2 separate regions of the Homo sapiens genome follow, and region 1 is linked to region 2. Evidence: promoter capture Hi-C in human tissues and cell types (Jung and others, 2019). All regions are on one chromosome and are shown on one strand. The core of a region is centred on a gene start or on the middle of the fragment in contact, and the rest is flanking DNA. Distances in the headings are between cores, read along the strand shown.

The links. Contacts are between HindIII fragments. The study calls those that stand out against the background at their distance.
Region 1: a fragment that was not itself captured here is called in contact with the fragment with the promoter of NDST2 in region 2 in 1 of the 25 tissues and cell types used here (dorsolateral prefrontal cortex).

What each region holds. Positions count from the first base shown.
Region 1 is chr10:75,174,489-75,179,852 of GRCh38, reverse strand. SAMD8 (sterile alpha motif domain containing 8) reads right to left here. Exons shown (of 6, transcript NM_001174156.2): 5 at 3,637-3,787; 6 at 1-3,465. The coding sequence ends at 3,161. Among named protein-coding and RNA genes, the nearest start is that of VDAC2, 34 kb to the left of the region's middle. The HindIII fragment of the contact is 3,060 bases long and covers 2,367-5,364 here.
Region 2 is chr10:73,809,357-73,814,086 of GRCh38, reverse strand. NDST2 (N-deacetylase and N-sulfotransferase 2) reads left to right here and starts at 2,489. Exons shown (of 15, transcript NM_003635.4): 1 at 2,489-2,613; 2 at 3,184-3,288. It overlaps CAMK2G (calcium/calmodulin dependent protein kinase II gamma), which reads left to right. Exons shown (of 23, transcript NM_001367534.1): 23 at 1-1,586. NDST2-ZSWIM8-AS1 (NDST2-ZSWIM8-AS1 readthrough) reads left to right here and starts at 2,267. Exons shown (of 18, transcript NR_182658.1): 1 at 2,267-2,613; 2 at 3,184-3,288. RefSeq lists silencers at 1,975-2,684, 2,985-3,054. The HindIII fragment of the contact is 10,328 bases long and covers 1-3,674 here.

The DNA.
Region 1 (5,364 bases), core at 2,647-5,146, 1.4 Mb before region 2:
TACAAGGTCAAAAAATATGTAGACCAAAGCCATGTAGCTTCTCTGCTTAGCCACATTCACAGATAAAATGTAAACATAAATACTATCTTCACTATGGTTTAGATTTTAACCAGGAAAAAAAATGAAGACAAAATCTGGAAATTTCTGGACAAAACAAAAAGCAACTAAAATACAGGTTTCATGTTTAAGTAAAACTGAAAATAAATTTGTCTCAATGTTTTCCAAGAAAGAGATGATTAATTTATGTAAACACTGCCTTATAATAGTTAAAACAATAAGTTATACCTAACTTACATTTTTCTCAAAACATATATGAGCAAGTGCAAGGCTGAAAAGTTATTTTACAATCCCCATTGCAGTCTGTTGTTAGGTCTCTCAATGTCAATAGCTCTGCAAAGTTAGTTACATTTATTTTTCTATTTGGTCTTAGAATAGAATTTATATGAAGGAAAGAAGACTGAGGTTAATAGCTATTTAAGTTTTTGTTATTGATTGATTGATTGATTGAGGCAGGGTCTCACTCTGTCCCCAAGGCTGGAGTGCAGTGGCATGATTACAGCTCACTGTAGCCTCAACCTCCTTGGGCTCAAGTGATCCTTCTGCCTCAGCCTCCCATGTAGCTGGGACCACAGGCATGCATCACCACGCCCAGCTAATTTTCTAAACAACTTTTTGTGGGGATGAGGTCTCACTTTGTTGCCCAGGCTGGTCTCTTTTACCTGAGCTCAAGTGATCCTCCTGCCTTAGCCTCCCAAAGTGCTGCGATTACAGGCATTAGACACTGCACCCACTCTAATTTGTTTTGTTTTGTTTTGTTTCGTTTTGAGATGGAGTCTCACTCTGTCACCTAGGCTGGAGTGCAGTGGAGTGATCTCAGCTCAATGCAAACTCCACCTCCTGGGTTCAAGTGTTTCTTGTTCCTCAGTCTCCCAAGTAGCTGGGATTACAAGTGCGTGCCACCATGCCCAGCTAATTTTTGTAGTTTTAGTAGAGATGAGGTTTCACCATATTGGCCAGGCTAATCTCGAACTCCTGACCTCAAGCCATCCGCCTGCCTTGGCCTCCCAAAGTGCTGGGATTACAGGCGTGAGCCATTGCACCCAGCCATGTTTTTAAGAGAATGGGTCTTGCTACCTTGCCCGGGCTGGAATGCAGTGGTTATTCATAGGCGTTATAACACACTCTAGTTTCTAACTCCTGGCCTCAAGCAATCCTCCTGCCTCAGCCTCCTCAGAACCTGGGACTATAGCCTTGCACCACTGCACTCGGCTTAACATTTTAGCATTAATGTTGCCATACAGTTTTTTGAACCCTTTCCCAAAAGCCAACATCACTGCCTCCCTAGCTAAATTCAGTCTGTTCTGTCACGTAGAAAAATAACAGTAACATATCTTTTTACCTGAAGGGTCAAACCACTCTAACTGGCATAGGAAACATCCTTTATTTTTCATGATTATGCAACTTCTTTACATGAGATGTTGGCATTTTGTTCCTAGCATGTAACAGAATCAGTGATTTAAGATATCAGATTCTGAGTTGTGAGATTTAAAAGCATAAAAGTTGAATTGCCTTGCAGCATTTCTCAAGTGAGAAATACAAAAATGATGTTCACAGCAGACCCAAATTGGGGTCATTCAGCACTAGCTGAGACTTGTTTGCATAATTTCCTTTCCTACCCAATTCATTCAGGCTCCTATGTAGCTTATACAGGGGTGGGAATATGACTCAAAGTGCAAAAATAAAATATTTCACCCAGATAAGGAAGGAGCAAGCTTCTGCTATGTGGCCTAATTGCAGGCCTCAGAATGCCAGCACCTTTTCTAAGTTTTTGTTTTAAAATGGAATGTAAAAACTACATAATTAATATTCCAAGCAGCTTAAGCTCATTAGTTGGGAGTTTAAATTCCAATTCCATAACCATCCTACTGTCATAACTACTGTAAAAAAATCATTAAAAATAAAGTAACAAATGTTATCATAGATGTGAAATTACTTAAAGTACTAAATTTCTAGTGTTGTAAATAGCAGCTAAGTTATATCACTTCCTGACTGCCAAATTAAGACTAAATAGAAAGAATGTATATACACCATTATATTTAAAAGTAAAAAACAACGAAACTTTTTCATATCCAAGTATGTCTGAGACTGTTTACTTCCAACAGCCAAGAATGATAAATTTCAAAAACCAAAAAGTTATATTTTGCGTGCTGTAAGTTTCTTTTCAGGAGAAAACAATTCTTTGCATGCATACCTCCCTACTTAACGGCATTAAGAACTTTATCTAACATCTGGTAAAACACTCCTATTTGGCTCATTTAATAACACCATTAAAAAAGCATAAAATTGAACTGTCATCTAACAACTATAGCACAAAGAAGTTATTCTGGGTACCTATACCACTAACATTAAGCCCATTTATTTTTATGGATGCAGCCATTTTTCCCTCATGAATACTCACTGAGGGTCACACTGGCACTGCATCTTTTGTTGCATCTTTGGTGAAATATGCCAGCCCTACATTTGCATTAATGAGGAGACCAATGGCATCCTAGCCAGTACTCTGTCACGTCATCTATGGCCTCTTTCATTCTCTTCTTATTTCAGGCATCCTGGTATGCTCAGTATATTTAAAGATGGTTCAGAAGGCAAAAACTCTTTGTCAGTAAAACAGATCATGTCCCAGGGTTGCATTTTTTAAAATGAAACAAAGATTAGTCCAAAGAACAAGTACTGTCACTTGTTAGGGTTTCTTCTTCTAAAGGTAATAAGGAGCTTCAAAACATATTATTTCTTGACTAGAGCCCTACTGGAAATCAATGAAAATTCCTCAACCAGCAAACTGCTCAAGTTGACTTGTTTAAAGTTCAATAAGCAAATACTCAACAGGTAAGGGTACAGCCTGACTTCAATCACAACATTAAGTCTTCCTAAAGAGAAGGGGCAGAAAACATCTACTTAAGCTTTCTGTTCAAATAGCTACATAAGGACTCTTGATTGTTCTTTCTTGCTTTTTATAATCATAACTTTGCTCAGAACAGAAAACTTTACTTTGTCAACACATAAGCCAGGCATCTAAGAACAACCTAGGGGGAGAACGCAAAGTTACTCATTTTCAACAACTATTATATATTTAATCACAAATTCATTAGAAAGATAGTATTCATCCAATTAGTCTTTTCATTATTGCTGGTTTTGAAAATGGCCAACAATATTCATTAGGTACTGTGCCATTAACATTGCATTCAAAAAAAGAGAACATGGGAAACCAAATCCTTGCTCTCCTACTCTGCTGATATGCTCTGGTATTGGCCAGAGTATGGTAGTACAAAAAGAGTCTTGTTGTTATATAAAAAGCAATAAACACATCAATAGAATAATGTTCATGGGCAGCCAAGATGAAGAAGATTCCAAAGAGGTTGAGAACCCAGGATAAAGTGTGCAAGAAATTCCAGCTTCTTGGTGTATCTAGGAAAAGGACAGAAAGATCATTTTAAAGCTACATTCCTTCCAATGCTTCTCAGTCACGTTTCTCAGGTCAGGCTGTTTTGCCATTCTTCACAGGATCTGACACCCTTCCCACAGCCTTCACTGCAGCTAGTTACCTAATACGCATAGAAGCACTAAAAAGATACTTACATTCGGTGACAAAGAAATTCAGCATAGTTAGGACGACTGTGTGGCCACTAAACATGTAATCTCCACATGTGTGAACGCCAGTCAGGGTCATACCAAAGCCACTCCAAATGGCAAAGGCTCGATGTAATTTCTCCCATACACTGCCATATATCTATGAAGAAAAGTTATGAATTAGTGCTTCAAATGCTTAGGGAGGTGGGAACTTCCCAACATCCATTCCTATTGAAATTCAAATGCTGAATAACTTAGAAATAAGATCTAAGCCAAAGCATCTAGGCCTTCAGTCTAATGAATTCCAGCCAGACTTCAAGAATGGGTGGGCAAAGCTTGGCTGTACTCAGAAATATTTTGGTAATTAAATGAAATCAGACTGGGCACAGTGGCTCATGCCTGTAATCCCAGCACTTTGGGAGGCTGAGGTGGGTGGATCACCTGATGTCAGGAGTTCAACATCAGCCTGGCCAACATGGCGAAACCCCAACTCTACTAAAAATACAAAAATTAGCCAGGCATGGTGGTGCACACCTATAATCCCAGCTACTAGGGAGGCTAAGGCAGGAGAATCACTTGAACCTGGGAGGCGGAGGTTGCAGGGAGCCGAGATCGCGCCACTGTACTCCAGCCTGGGCGACACAGTAAGACTCTGTCTCAAAAAAATTGATTAATTAATTAAAAATAAATAAATAAATAAATAAATAAATGAAATCACTGTAACATGAACTCCTTTACTAGGAGTTCCTTTATAATAAAAAGTTCTCTATAATACAAAAACATCTCCAAGTTTTTAATCCAATATCACAGTAGTAGTTGCTTGGCTATTCTTGCCAATAAGACATAGGCTATGACAGACGGAGATCAATGTCTACCTTTCAACATCCACTCTCCCCTTCTTCACTGGTAACACAATCTCAAATATATTGAGGCAGCAATGAATTCAGCCAAAATATTGCCTTTCCCAGCCTCCCTTGTAGCTAGGTGTGGCCACGTGACTAAGTTCTGTACAATAAGATCTAAGTAGAAGTGTTAAGGGTTTCTGGGAAGGCTACTTATCAAGGTAAGAGACAACAGTTTTGAGGAAGTCTTTTCTAACTTTTTACCTTTCCTTTTTTTAGTCTACAACTCAGACTCATTCAACTGGAGGTGAAACTCCAGCAACCATCTTGGACCACAAAGTGGCCTTGAGGATACAAGCCAAGTATTGGGATAGCAGACCAGAAAGACAGAAGAATTATGGGGTTTTTTTGGATGACTTCGTAAAATTATCATACCAGACCTTGTGTACCTACCTTCAGACTCTTTTTTGAGAGAGAATAAACCATTGTGTGTTTATTAAACCATAGCCACTTTGAATTTCCAGTTATCAATAGCCAAACCTAATCCCAACTCCCACACATACGCCTAAAAAAGCAGTCCATTTTGAGGAAGACCTTGAGTGACAACTGCTTTACAAAAGAGGGACAGTCACTTAAAAAAAAAAAGCATACTGCAGGGTGCGGTGGCTCACGCCTATAATCCCAGCACTTTGAGAGGCCGAGGTGGGTGGATCATCTGAGGTCAGGAGTTCGAGATCAGCCTGACCAACATGGAAAACCCATCTCTACTAAAAGTACAAAAATTAGCTGGGCATGGTGGCACATGCCTGTAATCCCAGCTACTCAGGAGACTGAGGCAGGAAAATCTCTTGATCCCGGGAGGGGTAGGTTGTGGTGAGTAGAAATCGTGCCATTG
Region 2 (4,730 bases), core at 1,240-3,739:
CAGAGCTTTGGGGGCCGTGATGTGATTGCAGCTCCTGAGGTGGCCTGCTTACCCCAGGTCTAGGAATGAACTTCTTTGGAACTTGCATAGGCGCCTAGAATGGGGCTGATGAGAACATCGTGACCATCAGACCTACTTGGGAGAGAACGCAGAGCTCCCAGCCTGCTGTGGAGGCAGCTGAGAAGTGGTGGCCTCAGGACTGAGAGCCCGGACGTTGCTGTACTGTCTTGTTTAGTGTAGAAGGGAAGAGAATTGGTGCTGCAGAAGTGTACCCGCCATGAAGCCGATGAGAAACCTCGTGTTAGTCTGACATGCACTCACTCATCCATTTCTATAGGATGCACAATGCATGTGGGCCCTAATATTGAGGCCTTATCCCTGCAGCTAGGAGGGGGAGGGGTTGTTGCTGCTTTGCTTCGTGTTTTCTTCTAACCTGGCAAGGAGAGAGCCAGGCCCTGGTCAGGGCTCCCGTGCCGCCTTTGGCGGTTCTGTTTCTGTGCTGATCTGGACCATCTTTGTCTTGCCTTTTCACGGTAGTGGTCCCCATGCTGACCCTCATCTGGGCCTGGGCCCTCTGCCAAGTGCCCCTGTGGGATGGGAGGAGTGAGGCAGTGGGAGAAGAGGTGGTGGTCGTTTCTATGCATTCAGGCTGCCTTTGGGGCTGCCTCCCTTCTTATTCTTCCTTGCTGCACGTCCATCTCTTTTCCTGTCTTTGAGATTGACCTGACTGCTCTGGCAAGAAGAAGAGGTGTCCTTACAGAGGCCTCTTTACTGACCAACTGAAGTATAGACTTACTGCTGGACAATCTGCATGGGCATCACCCCTCCCCGCATGTAACCCAAAAGAGGTGTCCAGAGCCAAGGCTTCTACCTTCATTGTCCCTCTCTGTGCTCAAGGAGTTCCATTCCAGGAGGAAGAGATCTATACCCTAAGCAGATAGCAAAGAAGATAATGGAGGAGCAATTGGTCATGGCCTTGGTTTCCCTCAAAACAACGCTGCAGATTTATCTGCACAAACATCTCCACTTTTGGGGGAAAGGTGGGTAGATTCCAGTTCCCTGGACTACCTTCAGGAGGCACGAGAGCTGGGAGAAGAGGCAAAGCTACAGGTTTACTTGGGAGCCAGCTGAGAAGAGAGCAGACTCACAGGTGCTGGTGCTTGGATTTAGCCAGGCTCCTCCGAGCACCTCATGCATGTCCCAGCCCCTGGGCCCTAGCCCTTTCCTGCCCTGCAGTCTGCAGTGCCAGCACGCAAATCCCTTCACCACAGGGTTTCGTTTTGCTGGCTTGAAGACAAATGGTCTTAGAATTCATTGAGACCCATAGCTTCATATGGCTGCTCCAGCCCCACTTCTTAGCATTCTTACTCCTCTTCTGGGGCTAATGTCAGCATCTATAGACAATAGACTATTAAAAAATCACCTTTTAAACAAGAAACGGAAGGCATTTGATGCAGAATTTTTGCATGACAACATAGAAATAATTTAAAAATAGTGTTTGTTCTGAATGTTGGTAGACCCTTCATAGCTTTGTTACAATGAAACCTTGAACTGAAAATATTTAATAAAATAACCTTTAAACAGTCCATTGTGTTACTGCTGTTGGAGGTTTACGGCCAGAGGCGTAGATTTTAGCAGCCTGGCTTACCAGGTTGGAGAGAGTACCTCCTCCTACTCCCTTTGGGTACTTTTGAGAATAAAACTTCCTCATGCCTGTAATCCCAGTACTTTGGGAGGCCGACGCGGGCGAATCACGAGGTCAGGAGTTCGAGACCAGCCTGGCTAATATGGTGAAACCCCGTCTCTACTAAAAAATACAAAAAATTTAGCTGGGCATAGTGGCGGGCGCCTGTAATCCCAGCTGCTCGGAAGGCTGAGGCAGGAGAATCGCTTGAACCTGGGAGGGGGAGGTTGCAGTGAGCCGAGGTCGCGCCACTGCACTCCAGCCCAGGCGACAGAGTGAGACTCCGTCTCAAAAAAAAAAAAAAAAAAAAAAAAAAAAAAAAAAAACTTCTCATAAACAGCCTCCAAACAGCGCTCGGTGCTGCGCAGGCGACGCGGGGCGGGGAGGGAGGGTGAGTGCCCTGGGAGCCGGCTGAGGGCCTCGCCCCGCCCCTGGTCCCGCCTCCGGTTAGGCCGCTCCGCCTCTTACTCCTCCCCTCCCCCGAGTGGGCCGGCCCGGCTCCCCCTCCGCGGGGCTGAGTGGATGAGCCCAGGCCTGAGCCCGCCCCTGCTCCGAAGTCGTGGTCCCCGACGCTCGGCCGGCAGTGCCATCGCGCGGAGAGGAGGGGGTGCGCTTCCGCGGGCGGGGCGCGGAGCCCGCCGTCTCGGAGGCCGCGGCTCGGCCCGGCACTGCGGAGGGCCGCTTGATTTCCCGGAACCCAGGTCGCGCGGCTGCTAGGGCCGGAGCCGGTGGATCCGAGCGGGTGCCACCAGCGGCGGCGCGCCGCCTCCCCCGGTGGGAGCGGTGGTTGGGCCAGGCTGCGGCAGAGCGTTCGCTCGGAGATGGCGGAGCAGCCGCGACGCGGCCCGTGGCCCCGAAAGCAGGGAAGCCGGGCAGCCCCGGGACGCGGCGGAGCCCGGGGACAGCGGGGACGCCGCCCAGTCCTCCGGGTGAGCCGCCCCTGAGGAGACCCCCCCGCCCACGGTCGCGCTCAGGCCCCCCCAACAGACTCCCTTGGATGTTGCCACCATCACCACCCGCAGGGTCGTCCCGGGCGGCCCAGCGTGCGCCGCGCCCCGGGTCCTTTCCGCCGGCCTCCCTCAGAACCGCCTCGCTCCCCTCCGGACCGGGCGGGCTCCCTTCTTCCCGCAGGGCTCTCCCAGCCCAGAGGCTGTCTCGATGTCACCCCGGAGTCGCCGCCGCGCGCCTGTGGCCCCTTCCCCTTTGGTGTCCCACATCCGGTGCGCTCTTCGCATCCACCTGTGCCCCCGTCTCCTCTCGGCGGGGCCCCTCCACCCGCCAGCCCCGGGCCCCCTCGGCGCCCGCAGCCTCCGCGCCGCTGCTCCGGCCGTCCCGGCCTCCCCAAGCCCGGGCCCGGCCCCGGCCCCCGTCTGGCTTCGCCGTCCTCAGAGATCTCCCGCACACACCCACCCCGCCCAGCCCTGCTGGCCCTCAGTGTTCACTGGCCCGGCCTGCGGCGCTCCCGGCGCCCCTTCCCTAAACCTTGCTGCTTCTTCCAGGTATGAAGCTAAAATGCAGCGGCTAAGAACGCGGCTCTGGAGCTTGACAGGCCTGACGTCGAATCCCAGCCCTCCCACCAACTGAGCTGTGTGATCCTGGGCAAGGTTCTAAGCTTCTCTGAGTTACTCATATGTGAAATGGGGATAATGGAGCATGTACCTTTTCCCTACCTCTTAGGGCTGGTGTGAAGATTAAATATATGTGAAGCTCTTAGAAGAATGGCTGGCAAGTTGTAATTTCTCAAATACGGGATGATACACCCTGAGTATCAACTTCCCGTCAGTGACCTCCTCACTACAATGTTTTCTCTAAAGTTGCATCACATTCTTAGCATTCACCCCTTCCCGTCACCATTTTGATCCTCTCCCCCAGCTGTCTTCTCGTGTCGTTTTACCTAGGCCAAAGCTGAACTGTTTTATTTTTATTTTTATTTTTATTTTTTTTTGAGCTGGAGTCTAGCTCTGTCACCCAGGCTGGAGTACAGTGGCACAATCTCAGCTCACTGCAATTTCCGCCTCCCACGTTCAAGTGATTCTCCTGCCTCAGCCTCCTGAGTAGCTGGGACTACAGGCGCCCACCACCATGCCCATCTAATTTTTGTATTTTTAGTAGAGACGGGGCTTCACCATGTTGGCCAGGCTGGTCTCGAACTCCTGACCTCAAGTGATCACCCGCTTCGGCCTTTCACAGTGCTGGAATTACAGGCGTGAGGCACCACGCCTGTCCTGAACTGTTTTTAAATCATCTCTGTCAATTCTGAAGGACCTCAGCTCTGCCTTATCACCCCTGAGATGTGTGTTTGGGGGTGGGTGGTAGAGAGGGATTGCCAGCCTTACAAGGAGGCTGAGTGGGGATAGTGACAATAAAGCTTACAGAAGCAGTCGATTTAAGAAAAAGAACAGACTCAGGAGGCTGAGGCCGGAGGATTGTCTGTCTGACCCCAGGAGTTCAAGACCAGCCTGGGCAACGTAACAAGACCCCCATCTCTAAAAAAAATTAAAAATTAGTAGGGTGTGGTGGTGCAAAGCTGTAGTCCCAGCTACATGGGAGGCTGAGGTGGGAGGATCACTTGAGCCCAGGAGTTTGAAGCTGCAGTAGGCTATGATCACACTAGCACACTGTATCCTGGGTGACAGAGCAAGACTCCATCTAAAAATAATAAAAGAGATCCCCAAAATTAGACCTCCTTAAAACTGTTTTCTGATCACACTGTCCTTTTTCCTTCTGTCATTGGTTGGATGTGACTTAAGCTCCTGTTGCTCTCTGTCATCCAGTCCTTACTCAAGTTGTTCTGTTTGTGTAACTGGACTCAATACCTCATGTCTCTCCAGACTAGCTCAGGGACTCTTCTGAGCTGTTTAGGAATAGGGTTGTAGAACTACTTAGGCTAAGTTAGGAAGGAGAAGTAGAGTGGACTCAGCTGTATGGCTTTTCTCAGCACCCAGTGTGTGGCCTGCTCAGGGGTTACATTTTTATCTCCTGACTGGCAAAGTTGAGGTGAAGGTCAGGGGCAGGTAATGTTTCACAAGCAACGGGTAAGGGAGTC